2 separate regions of the Homo sapiens genome follow, and region 2 is linked to region 1. The links are contacts of gene promoters, found by promoter capture Hi-C in human tissues and cell types (Jung and others, 2019). All regions are on one chromosome and are shown on one strand. The core of a region is centred on a gene start or on the middle of the fragment in contact, and the rest is flanking DNA. Distances in the headings are between cores, read along the strand shown.

What was found. Contacts are between HindIII fragments. The study calls those that stand out against the background at their distance.
Region 2: a fragment that was not itself captured here is called in contact with the fragment with the promoter of CAPNS2 in region 1 in 2 of the 25 tissues and cell types used here (mesendoderm cells and thymus).

Annotation. Positions count from the first base shown.
Region 1 is chr16:55,563,760-55,570,200 of GRCh38, reverse strand. It overlaps CAPNS2 (calpain small subunit 2), which reads right to left and starts at 3,517. Exons shown (of 1, transcript NM_032330.3): 1 at 2,514-3,517. The coding sequence starts at 3,444. The coding sequence ends at 2,698. The region is part of intron 11 of LPCAT2 (lysophosphatidylcholine acyltransferase 2); the gene reads right to left. The HindIII fragment of the contact is 10,931 bases long and covers 1-5,935 here.
Region 2 is chr16:55,440,490-55,446,930 of GRCh38, reverse strand. It overlaps MMP2-AS1 (MMP2 antisense RNA 1), which reads left to right. Exons shown (of 7, transcript NR_147198.1): 3 at 1-67; 4 at 2,710-2,818. Among named protein-coding and RNA genes, the nearest start is that of MMP2-AS1, 19 kb to the left of the region's middle. The HindIII fragment of the contact is 3,141 bases long and covers 1,338-4,478 here.

The sequences.
Region 1 (6,441 bases), core at 2,268-4,767:
GTTACAGAGCACATGATTCTTTTTCCTTTTTTATAGGTTATAAAATTTAGTGGATTATATCAAGATAAAGTTACTTTTCAAAATCACATGGGATCTTTTGAAATTTAAAAATGTAGATGTATAATTTCACATATTTTTATCACTGAGTATGATTTTCAATTTACATTGATTAAATTACTTAATGTCAGAAATTTAAGAATAATGGCATGGAGTTATATGAATTATATAAATCTTAGGCTATAAATAGTCTTGCATATAGAGCAGGCAAATTTTTAAAAAGGTGTCAAGTTAAATATTGCTTCTAACATTAAAAATGTGCCTTTAAAACATCAAATATTGAATGAAAACTAAGAAATTCAATCACTTGCTAGGCTATTGGTTCTACACAATGCTAAATATTTGGTTACTTGGAAAAAGTCCAGATTTTTTAGTTCTAGTATCCACTCTGATGTCTGAGGTTACTTATACAAATTCAGAAGAGAAAAGGAGAGAAACTTAGGTAATTTCAGGGTGTTTTTCCATGAGCATGCTGGAAGAGAATTGTAAAAGTAGGTAATCCCTCAACTTGAGAAGCAAGGGCAATAATACCACTCCTAGTGTGAGATGATTGTTTTAACTTTTATGAAACATTTACAATAAAGTGAGGAACAAAAATGTGGTTACATTGTTCTTTCCACAACCATCCTATGGAAAGGTTAAATTATAAACCTAATATTCTGAGAATTTAAAAGATGTCTGGCAGCTTTCCCCTTTCTTGGCTACTTTACTACATCCATGCCTAACATATTCCTGGACTTATTCTAAAATAGAGAGATTGTTATTAATGTGTGGTTGCTGGCAGCAGCCTCCTTCTTATGTAACCACACCTGGTCTAAGTAGCACACCAGACCAAGGTTAAATTACAAGTCCCTTGAGGAAAGTGGATGTGATCTCTGTGCTTGGCTCAGTTCAGAATTATATGTGTGTGGTGTTTCATAAATATTGTATGATGGTGATGATGGTGAACACAAAGGTCAAAAGCCAACCTCTCCACATTTCACTGGGGATTTCTAACAGGAAGCTGAGGGATGTTAACAGGCTAGTTACATCATTTCCATAGTTACAACTTTCTTCTAAATGAGTCCAAAGAGGAAGGAAGAATTTATCTGCAAACTCGGGATGACCCTCCAAAGTAGCCTGGGATAGAGACAATGCATTAAAAATCAGAGAAGCAGAATGGGTAGAGACCAATTAAATAGCAGACAGAGGAACCAAGCACTTGCAAATGTAGCCTCTCTAGCTGTGTCTACTGGCACCGGAATCCTGGATTCTGTTTGCTCTGCTATATTAGCCTATTATCAAAATTATAAAGCCAAACCAAGGTCTGTACGCAAGAAAGGCACAACTACCCCAGCTTTTGGGTGGCATTTTCTTGGTATTTCTATCTTCCTTCTCCTGAATGCTGGCAACACTGACTCTCCTGCATGGCCTTAGTTTTGGCTGAGACAGGCTTGAAAAATACTGTGAGGTGGCCCTACTTCAAAGCAATCAAGGCTGTCAACCTTGGCTGATCATTAGAATCACTTGGGGAGCTTTAAACATATTCATCTCTGGGCCCCACCTCTAAAAAGTCTTATTTAACATATTTGGAGACTCAAGTATTAGTATTCCTAAAGAGCTCTCCCAGTGATTCCAAATTGCAGCCAGGGCTGAGAATAATTGCAATAGTCAGCAATATGTGTTCTCTATATTGGTTTACATTCCATTTAACTGATTACTGTTCATGTGTTTTTCTTTTTTTGTTTTTCTTTGTTTGCTGCTTATTTCCTGCCTGTAGTTTTCAAAGATGAACAAAAGAATTTTCCTTGCTCTAAGGCAGGACAAGACACGACAAGAGCTGGCTAACGTCAACAGGGCATGCCTGATTTTGTATGAAGTACGTGTAAGAGCAAACATTTTGATTCATTAAGGCAGCTAGAGACATTTTTGAACTATGAGCATATTGTTTTATTCCTCAATGTCTTTGACTCTCTTTACAAATGTATCAAAACAAAATTGCTAGTGCTTTTTTTTACTAAAGAAACAGAATTAAAGAACTTTAGAATTTTAGATAGTAGCTCCATCATTTAAAAAAATGCTACCCTTATATAAAACTGCTTAATTTCATTGTCTGAACCTGTTTCTTTATGGTTAAATAAGTTTCCTAAAAAGCACTTTTCATTTTTTTACATAATGGGAAAACCAGGTATAAAATTACAAGAAAAACAGATTTTGAACCTCTCTCCTCAACTTTTTAAAATGGAAAATGTATCTCCTGAGGGCTTTCTTGATTTATTCTAGGATTAAAAAAATTCATTCTTAACAACAATAACAACAATAATAAAGTTCCTACTCCTTGGAATTTATTCACTAAATAAGCAACACCTTTTAAAATCTACTCCATTAGAACTCTACCCCACAACCTCCCCACCATATATATGCAAGTCCATATAAATCCAAATCTCAAAAAGCTGATATACAAACCACTCAGAACATTTTTCGTGAAATATCTGTTTTAATTCAGCAGTAAAAGGCAGCACATGATCAGAAATATGTAGGGTTGTGAAAGAGCTTGCCAGGAAATGAGAGCTGTTGCACAGGGTATCAGCAACTGTGTACAGCTTGGCAAGGTTTTCAGTCCTGTCCTCCAGGGAGGATCTTGACTTCTCAGTTCCCACTTCAGGAATACATGGTCAACTGCAGCCATTCTTTGATAGACACTTGAATCAGGCCATCTCTATCTCTATCCAGAGACTTGAAGGCACGAAACATGGCATCCAGGCGGACCAAGCAGCTGATGAAATTGTTAAAATCCATATCTCCATCTTCATTAGCATACCGGCGGACAATCATTTGGTAAAGTTGTTCATTTAGCTGGAAGCCTGCGGCCTGCAGAGCTCCCCGCAGCTGAGAACTTCCCAGAGACCCAGAATGGTCCCTGTCATACTGCTTATAAACACACTGCCATTTCTTGATGTTGTTCCACAGATACTTAAATTCTTCAAAGCCCAGCTTACCAGTCGTGTCACTGTCCATGACAGACACAATGCTCCGGCAGGTGTCAAGACTAAAACCGTCAGTCTTAAGATCTTTGTGCTTAGAAAGGACTTTGTTGAGAATATTCATCAGATCAGTGGCACCCACCTCCATGTCTGGTCCAGCCAGCTGTGTAAATTGTTGCCGAAATCGCCTAACTTCCTCACTTTCTGAGGCCTCCACACTGGTGAAATGCTGCTGAGTGGGAGGCGGTTCTGGAGTATACTGAGCTGCTGCAGCCTCACTGATAAAATTCACAATTCCTCCAACTATCCCTCCAATATTTCTTCCTCCTCCTTCTCTTCTCTGACCACCTCCTCCAAAGAGGCCTCCAAGAGCTTCTCCAAGACCTCGATCTGCTCCTTCCAATAGAGCCTTTGCAAGAAACATGCTTTCAGTTTAACAAGCAAATGCGGCAGCAATCTTAGAGATGGTATGAAAAAAGATGAAATGGAGTTCAAGTAGTTTACATGTGGAAGAACTGGCTTTTCTTTACCTGCTTACACTGCACCACGCCCCATGATGTGATGTTTCACATCCTACTGAAGATACCTGAGTTCCATGAGGTCCTAGCACCTGCCATATTTTACAAGGCCTCAATAAAATTGTTTTCACTCTTCCAGATACTTATAAATTATAGTATGTAGGACACCTTAGGATAATAGTTTTAAAGAAAAAATATTAAAGTATGCATTTTTATGTCATTGATTTCTTAGTCCTCTGTCTCAGCACCTAAAAAATGATGTGCATTTTCCTAACAGGAAAAAGGTAAATGATGCAAGGAAATCAAAAATTTATTCTCTAAGAAATATTTATTGTTAGAATAGAATTGAAGAAATCTTGGGCATTGGAAGAATATTTAATCCTCTTCCTTTAGCAAAGATTCTCAAAATCCAGTAGTCTTAAGAAAAATTTAGAAGGGAGATTTTTAAAATGCAAGGTCCTGAATTTCCACTCCCAGAGATTCTGATTCCATAGGGCTGCTGTGGTGTCTGTGATCGACATTGCTAAAATCTTTTTTGAAATGTAACATTCATGTAAAAAATGTATCATATAAATCACAAATGGATAGCTCAAAGAATTTCACAGACTGCACACATCTCAGAGGCCTCTTCATACTTCTTTCTAGTTACTTCCGTCTTCCAAGGATAACCACTGTCCTGACATCTAACACCATAGATTTATTTTTGCACCTTAAATAAATTAAATCAGACAGTACAGACTCTTTCATTTATTCCTTTTTCATTATAAAAATGTTAAATGTTTTAAAATTGTGATAAAATACACATGCCATAAAATATACTATTTTAACCATTTTTAAGTATAGAGTTCAGTGGCATTAAGTATATTTGCATTGTGAAACCATCACCACCAGCTATCTTCAGAACTTTTTTCATCTGGCAAAACTGAAACTGTACCCATTAAAGAATAACTCCCATTCTCCCCTTCCCCCACCCCTGGTAACCATCTCTCTATTTTCTAGCTCTATGATTTGACTACTCTGCATGCCTTATATAAGTGGAATCATACAGTATTTGTTCTTTTGTGACTTGCTTATTTCAATGAGCATAATTTCTTCAAGATTCATCCATGTTGTATCATGTGTCAGAATTCCCTTCCTTTCTAATGATGAATAATATTGTATTGCATTAATATACTCATTTTGTTTTTCCATTATCCCATTGGTGAATACTTGGGTTGCCCTTTTGGCTATTGGGAATAATGCTGCTATGAACATGGGTATACAAATATTTGTTTGAGTCTTTGCTTTCAATTCTTTTGGGTATATACCAAGAAGTGGAATTGCTGAATCATATGATAATTCTATTTTTATCTTTTTAAGGAACTACCATACGCTTTTCCTTATTGACTGTACCACTTACATCCCCACCAGCAATACACAAGAGTTCCAATTACTCCATATGCTTGCAAACACTTGTTATTTTCTCTTTTGTTTTGTTTTCTAATAATAGCCATCCTAATGGCTGTAAAGTGGTATAACATTGTAGTTTTGATTTGCATTACCCTAATGATTAATGATGTTGAGCATCTTTTAATGTATTAATACTTACTGACCAAAGAAGATCTTTGGAAAAATGTCTATTTAAATCTTTTGGCCATTTTAAAATCTGGTTATTTGTTGGGTTTCTTGTTGTTGAGTTGCAGGAGTTCTTTAAATATTCTAGATATTAATCCCTTATCAGATATATAATTTGTAAATATTTTCTTTCATTCTGTAGGTTACCTTTCCACTCTGTTGTTAGTGTCCTTTGATGCACAAAAGTTTAAAATTTGTATGTGGTCATATTTATCTATTTTTCTTTGGCTGCCTGTGCTTTTGGCGTAATATTCAAGAAATCATTGAGAAATCCAGTGTCATGAAGCTTTTCCTCTGTTTTCACTGAAGAGTTTTATAGTTTCAGCTCTTATGTTTAGATCTTTGATCCATTTTGAGTTAACTTTTGTATATGTGTAAGTTAAGGGTCCAACTTCATTCTTTTGCATGTGGATATATAATTTTCCCAGCACTATTTGTTGAAAAGACCGTCCTTTCCCCATTGAATGGTTTTGGCATTCTTGCTGAAAATCATATGACCATATACACAAGGGTTTCTTCTGGGATCTCTATTCTATTCCATTGGCTTATATGTCTTTCTTGAAACCAGTGCTGCACTGTTTTGATTACTGTAGGTTTGAAGTAAGGTTTGAAATGAGGAAATGTCAGGCTTTCAACTTTGCTATTCTTTTTCAAGATTGTTTTGGCTATTCAGTGTCCCTTGAAATTCCCTATGAATTTTAGGATTGATTGTTCTATTTTTGTAAAGAAACATTGGGACTTTGAAAAGGATTGCTTTAAATCTGTAGATCACTGTGGGAAGTACTGACTCTTAATATTGTCTTCTAATCCATAAACATGGAATATCTTTCCATTTATTTGTCTCTTCTTCAATTTCTTTCAGCAGTGCTTTGTAGTTTTCAGTGTACAAGTCTTTAGCTTCCTTCTTGAAGTCTATTCCTAAGTATTTTAATTTTTTCTATGCCATTGTAATGGAATTGTTTTCTTAGTTTCCTTTTCAGAATTGTTCATTGTTGGTGTATAAAATGCAACTGATTTTTGTGTGTTGATTCATATCCTGTAACATTGCTAAGTCCCTTAATTAGTTCTGTGTTTTGTATGTGTGAGGGGTAATCTTTAGGGTTTTCTACAAATAAGATCATATCATTTGTTAACAGAGATAATTTTACTTCTTCCTTTCTATTTCATATGCCTCTTATTTCTTTTTCTTGCCTAACTGTTCTCGCGATGATTTCCAATACCATGTTAGTAGAAGCATGAGAGTGGGCATCCTAGTCTTATTCCTGATCTTAGAGGAAAAGCTTTCAGTC
Region 2 (6,441 bases), core at 1,659-4,158, 120 kb after region 1:
TTCCCAGGGGACCAATCCCAGAAATATGTGGAGCTGGAGCTTCTGGCAGCCTTTTTGCTACCATGAGGTAAGTATCTGTGTGAGTAAGGAAGCAACACAGCCAAACGTGGAGCAGAGAGATAAAAACTGACTCCAGGGGCCATTGTTGGAGCACCTGGATCCAGGTGATCCTGAACAGACACCTCTGTACTTTTCTCTCCTATAACCTAATAAACTTGATTGCTATTGCTGTTCTTCATTTAAGCCTATTTGGCTTGGGATTCTGTCACTTGGAGCTGTGTGGTGACCTTATGCAGTGTTTATGGGGTTTACACAGTGGTTGTCATGGCCTTTTCAGTTCAGGAATCCCAAAGCTTTATGGCTTCTATGATTCTCCTGGGAGTGAGTGGGGCTGGCTGCAGGAAACTGGGTCACAAGGCCTCAGCCACAGTCGCCTTGACTCTGCCAGTGTGGTGGGGGCTTGGCCTGGTCCCCACAAGGAGAGAAAGTGTTGAGTCCCATGTCTCACCACTCTTCATGAGTATAATTATTTTGATGCCAAATTATTAATGGGCTTGGCTGTGACATGTTTTCCCAGACCCCCCTTGGAGATGTCACGTTATAAATGGTGATCTCATTGTATAATATTTTTAAATCTGAAAATTTAAATACTGAAATACCACTGACCCCAGTGGTTTCAAGGAATGGCGTGCAGACTTGTAGTGATCTCTACTCAAAACTTAGAAGCTTTCACATAAAATTCCACATTCCTGGTTTCCCTGAAGAGGGAGAAGGCCTGGCATTGCTACGTAGCGCCACTGGGATACACACCCAGGGTGATAAGTGCCTGACACTGAGCTGCCCCCACTCCCTTGGATGGGGCCCGCCTTCCGCATCCTGACCCGGGTCTCTACTGCTGTGCACACACAGCCCCCATATCAGTCAAGAATAAGGAAGACTTAGACAATGCTCCTTCAACACCAGTGCCCAGGGAGTTTCTAAAAGTGCAGTCACCCCGGGATACCTCTCTCCTGCACATTGCTTGAGATCCCTAGCTGTGAACACTAACAGGAGCTTTTATGCTTCTATGCTCTGTACCAAACGCATGTGCACCAGCTCATATCATTCTCATGACAGTCCTGGGTGAGGGTCATTCCACCCCTTTTCACATAAAAAATCCGAGGGTCAAACACACCGTGTATCTTTTTTTTTTCTTTTTTTGAAATAGGCTCTTGCTTTGTCACCTAGACTAGAGTGCAGTGGCACAATCACAGCTCACTGCAACCTCGACCTCTTGGGATCAAGCGATTCTCCCAGCTCAGCCTCCCAGGTAGCTGGGACTACAGCTATGTGCCACTATGCCTGCCTTCTTTTTGTTTGTGGAGACAGAGTCTCACTATGTTGCCCAGGCTGGTCTCAAACTCCATGCAATCTTCCCACCTTGGCCTCTCAAAGTGCTGGGACTATAGTCACGAGCCACCACGCCCGGTGCCCACACCATGCATCTTGAGCCACCACGCCTGGCACCCACAGCATGCATCTTACCCCAGGCCACATCCCTAGGGAGAGCTGGGACCAGAGAAGACCTCCTGCCCTGCGAGCTTCTTTTGACCTTTGTATCTGGGGCAATCAGCAGAGGTGACTGTACCATGGCACCCCACACCCAGTCCAGTTGTGAGAGGAAGGAGGTGGAGAGGAGTAGGTAGACATAGTAAAATAAATGTCATGGAAGCCAAATTTAGAGGATATGGAGAATGTCAAAGTGAGAAGCTGGCAGGTCATTTGGTCTAATGCTCTTGTTTTCTCCATGGGGGAAAGTGGGGAAGTTGACAGTTTCAAGGACACGTAGTGGCCCTGGAAAGAGAGAAGGGTCATTACAGTGGTTGTTATGGTCATTACAGTAGACCAGATTCTGAGACCTAACGTGAACCCTGGGCTTCCCCATTTAGCACTGCTTTCCCCTGAAAGCTTCATTCACTTGTCTACCCAGGGCAAGGGGAACTCCTGGCCATGTGCCTGGGGGCCTTTGCTCTCTCTTCCTGCTCCTCCAGAATAACTTCCCTTTGGGTAATTTTTCCATTACACTGTTCCCCTTTGGACTTTCAGAAATAAAAACCCAGCCCCCCTGGTGTGCAGTCACACTTGCGCCCTGAGGAGTAGTTAAAATTCAGCTTGAGGGGCACTTAGTGTCACAGAAGCCTAGATAAAGAAACAAGATTTCAGGCAGGAAGAAATAATAAAGAGGCAGGACTTCAAGTGTCCTGTGAAACACAACATTCGGCCTCCGGCACACACATCCGTGGGAGACGGCTCAACTTCTTTATAAAGTGGTGAGTTCTGTGTGAGCACAGATGCATTTTGTTTTCCTATGAGGAATCAATGATTAAATTATCAGAAAGCTAAAAACCAGGCTGCCTGAATATTCCCCGACGTGTCCCCTGTGTCTCCCCAGCACCTCCTGCTCAGGAGGTACAGGCTTTATCTCCAAAGCTTTAGTTTAAATGTCCAACACATCTTATTAATGAAAGTAATAAGCTGTTGTTTATTATATGTCATGATGGGGAATATGACTATTTAATATAAACCTGACATTTAAATTCCACTTAGTTATGAGACGTGGACGATATCAAGGCATAACTCTTTACCCTGGAGTAAAAACTCCCTGGGTCTGCATTTTAAAGCATTGAAATTTTCAAAGTAATCAGGTTCCTTTTTTTTTTTTTTTTCCAGAGGAACCAAATTGTGAAGACATCTGTTCTGTTATTAATTTCACATACATCTTAAGCTCCTCAAGGCCAGAAATGAGGCTTCATTCACGTCGAATTAATGAAACATGATTGTAAGTCCCTTGCTTGGAAATGCTGTCACACAGTTCTGAGCTGCTTATAAGCACTGAGTAATCTCTGAAACTGCCAGGGGACGGCCACTTGAAATCTGCCCTCCCCTCCCCCTGCCACCCAAAAACAATATCTGAATATATCACAACACTAACTATATCCTGAAAGATTAATAGCAGATAAAAATTTCTGGGAAATGAATCAGACTTTCTCAGTAAAGGATACAGAGATCTCAGGCAAAAGCAGATTGCATAGTGGAAGAGCTCTTTGGGATACAGTTTAATAACTGTGCCCCAGGCTGCCCCTGAATACACCCAAAAGGACGATGGTGGGCCAGGAAGGGGGTGGGGAGTCTTGGAATTTCTTGCAGAGATGTCTTTTGAGGGTGTGTACGAAAATGTACTGGAGGTGACACAGATGTGAAACTGGAAACTTGATCTGCGAAAGCATGATGTATGTGTCAGGTGTGTGGGAGAATGTGTGTGCATATGGAAACTGTGTGTGAATGCATGCAGGAATGTGTATGAGTCTACTTACATGTGGGTGAGTATGTGTATATCAGTGTGTGAGTTCGCGCACGTATGAGTGTGAAAATGTGTGTGTTGTGAGTTTGTGTTGGTGACTGTGTATGAGGGTATGTGTGTATGAATATGGGTGAGTTTGCATGTGTGAAAATGTCTGTGTTGCAAGTTTTTATTGGTGAGTGTGTATGAGGGTATGTGTGTATGAATATGGATGAGTTTGCATGTGTGAAAATGTGTGTTGTGAGTTTGTGTTGGTGAGTGTATATGAAGGTATGTGTGTATGAACATGGATGAGTTTGCATGTGTGGAAATATGTGTGTTTCGAGTTTTCATTGGTGAGTGGGCATGAGGGTATGCGTGTATGAATATGGATGAGTTTGTGTGTGAAAATAATTTTGTGTGTCTGTGGATGCATATGAAGGTGTGTGTGTGTGTGTGTGTGTGGTGAGTGGATGCATTGACATGCACAGATCTCTCAGGACAGACAGGAATCAGTCAGTCCGGGCTGGATCTTAAATAGCAGCTCAGCACAATACCATGCCCATCTGAGCCAGTCTTGAAAGGAGCTTGCTCTTGAGGTTTTGGGTTTGGGGGGCTTGATTTTTTTTTTTTGTCAAATAACTGAAAATGCCAGCAGAAAGATTGTCTGGAGGGAGGCATGAGATGGGGAGCCTGAGATTTCTTAATCAAACTTTCAAGTGTTATTTTTGGTCTTCCGCTGAGCTGGGACCAAAAAAGAATCTGCATATGATATTTACATCTCAAATCTTCAGAGCCTCATTAGCTTTGATAGTTATTTATTTATTTATTTATTTGCAAAAAGGAATTTAAATCAAACAGAGAGGCACAAAAGCAAAACCTTTGAATGTAGTGCAACATTAATTAAAACAGGCAGCCGAAGGGTAGAGTGAAATACAATGGAATCCAGAAAAAAAAAAAGACAATGAAACTAATTAGACTCTGATGGGAAGATCCTTCCTCGTTTGGTGATCATCCATTGGTAATTAATAAGTCACAAATATTGATGTTTGAAGAAAAGTGCCAGAATTTTAACCCCTGTTTTTCCAGAAGTTTAAAAAAAATTTCTTTAGATTCTGATCTTCTAAACTAAATCAGTCAAATGATTGGATGTTGAATTTTACAGTCATGTGTTGGTGACGGATGGGGATGTGTTCTGAGAGGCTATTTCATCATTGTGCCAACCTCATACAGTGTACTTACACACACCTAGATGGTATAAGCTATATGGAATAGCCTTTTGCTCCTAGGCTACAAACCGGTATAGCATGTATCACACTGAATACTGTAGGTAATTGTAACACCGTGGTAAGCATTTACATATGTAAATATAGAAAAGGTCCAGTAAAATTATGGTATAAAAAGTAGAGAATGGTACACCTGTATAGGGCACTTACTGTGAATGGAGCTTGCAGCACTGGAATTTGTTCTGTGTGAGTCAGTGAGTGAGTGGTGAGTGAAGGTGAAGGCCCAGGACATTACTGTATACCACTAGAGACTTTATAAACACTGTAGACTTAGGCCATGCTAAATTTATAAAAAATAAAGTAATTGCACTACAGTATTACAATGGCTACCGTGTCACTAGGTGATATGAATTTTTCATCTCCGTTATAATCTTATGGGACCACTGTCATATATGCAGCCTGTCATTGACCGAAACACCATTACACAGCACAGGACAATATTGTGTTCTGGGGGAAACAGACTAGCCTATACCAGCAACTGGTTAGCTCTCAACACCTGTCCTCAAAATAATGTGCAGGTGGATCGAATTCAACTGTCAGCGGATAAAGATATATCTAATACAAGAGATGCTGGACTCCAGCAGTTAGCATTAACCCAGTGGTGGAACCAACTTGTATATATGAATGGATACAATCCCAGCTAGATTTTTGCCCCTGTATATTTTGAGGCTTTGTTGTATGATCCATGCTTTGTAGATCTGTGAAAAACATTTCCAGGCATCCAGTTGAAAAACCCTTGACCAACAGTATAAAAACGACTTTTAGCTTTGCCTAAGCATAAGGCAGCATCAAAGGGGTCTGGCTTCCTTTTGGGAAGTTCTTTTGAATGAAGTGATCAGTTAGTATTTATGCTTTTTGTCCTTCTGTATTATGCAACAGCACAAATGCACAACTGCCCCAGTGGGACAATCTAATGCATAGCCAGCCAGTCACACAGTTTTAAAGTTGGACGCATGTGTCTTTGGCACGTCCCAGGTCTCCTTTCAACTTCTTTCAGAATCTCTTTTTTACCACCCTCCAGCCCAGCGCTTGAGGTTCTCAGGATGACCCTGGGTCATTTCTAGCTTAAAGAGAGTGGGCTTTGAGAAATATCTTGATAAGTGTTAGTGCAATTTTTAAAGATGGCTAAAATGCTAATGGTGAAATTTCAGGCTTTGTGGCAGTTGGATGAAAGGAATGTTTTTGAGCAAAAGATCTTTCCAACGATCCCTCAAACCTACAATGCATAAAAGTGGACTTGTTTAGATAAGTCAGTAAATTATGCCTAATCTCAGTTTTCCTCCATGTAAAGAGGAAGAAATTAAACTAGAAGTAGAATGATCTTTAAGGTTTATTAAAGAGAGAGAGAGAGAGAGAGAGAATGGTTTGCCATGTGCAAAAAAAGGCAAGGCTCTTCCTTATAAGTAGCACAGGGATTCATTCATTCATTCATTCATTCTGTGTGTGTGTGTGTGTGAGAGAGAGATCTCTGGGCCAAACCCTATATCACAGTTCTTTCACATCATTTCACCTACCCCTTACAACAACCTTTGAGGTGGGTATTCCTAACAGGAGTGGTTGTCAATTTATTTAACTATCAATAAGCCACAGATACTTGCCAATCAGAAAGAACACTGAGTTAAACACTAGAACAGGGTCCTGGAGACCCCTGACTGTGCCAGGTATTTGTTGCTAGATGAGGAAAGAGGTGGGGAGGAGCCAGGGTGCCTGGCACAATGAAGGGGAGATTGGGAAGCTATTTGACAACTGGCCTGGGAAATGCTCTAATTTTTAAACTGCTGGTATGGATTTTGTACTATTGGATATGGCTGAACATCAGCCGTGACTTTCAATCTC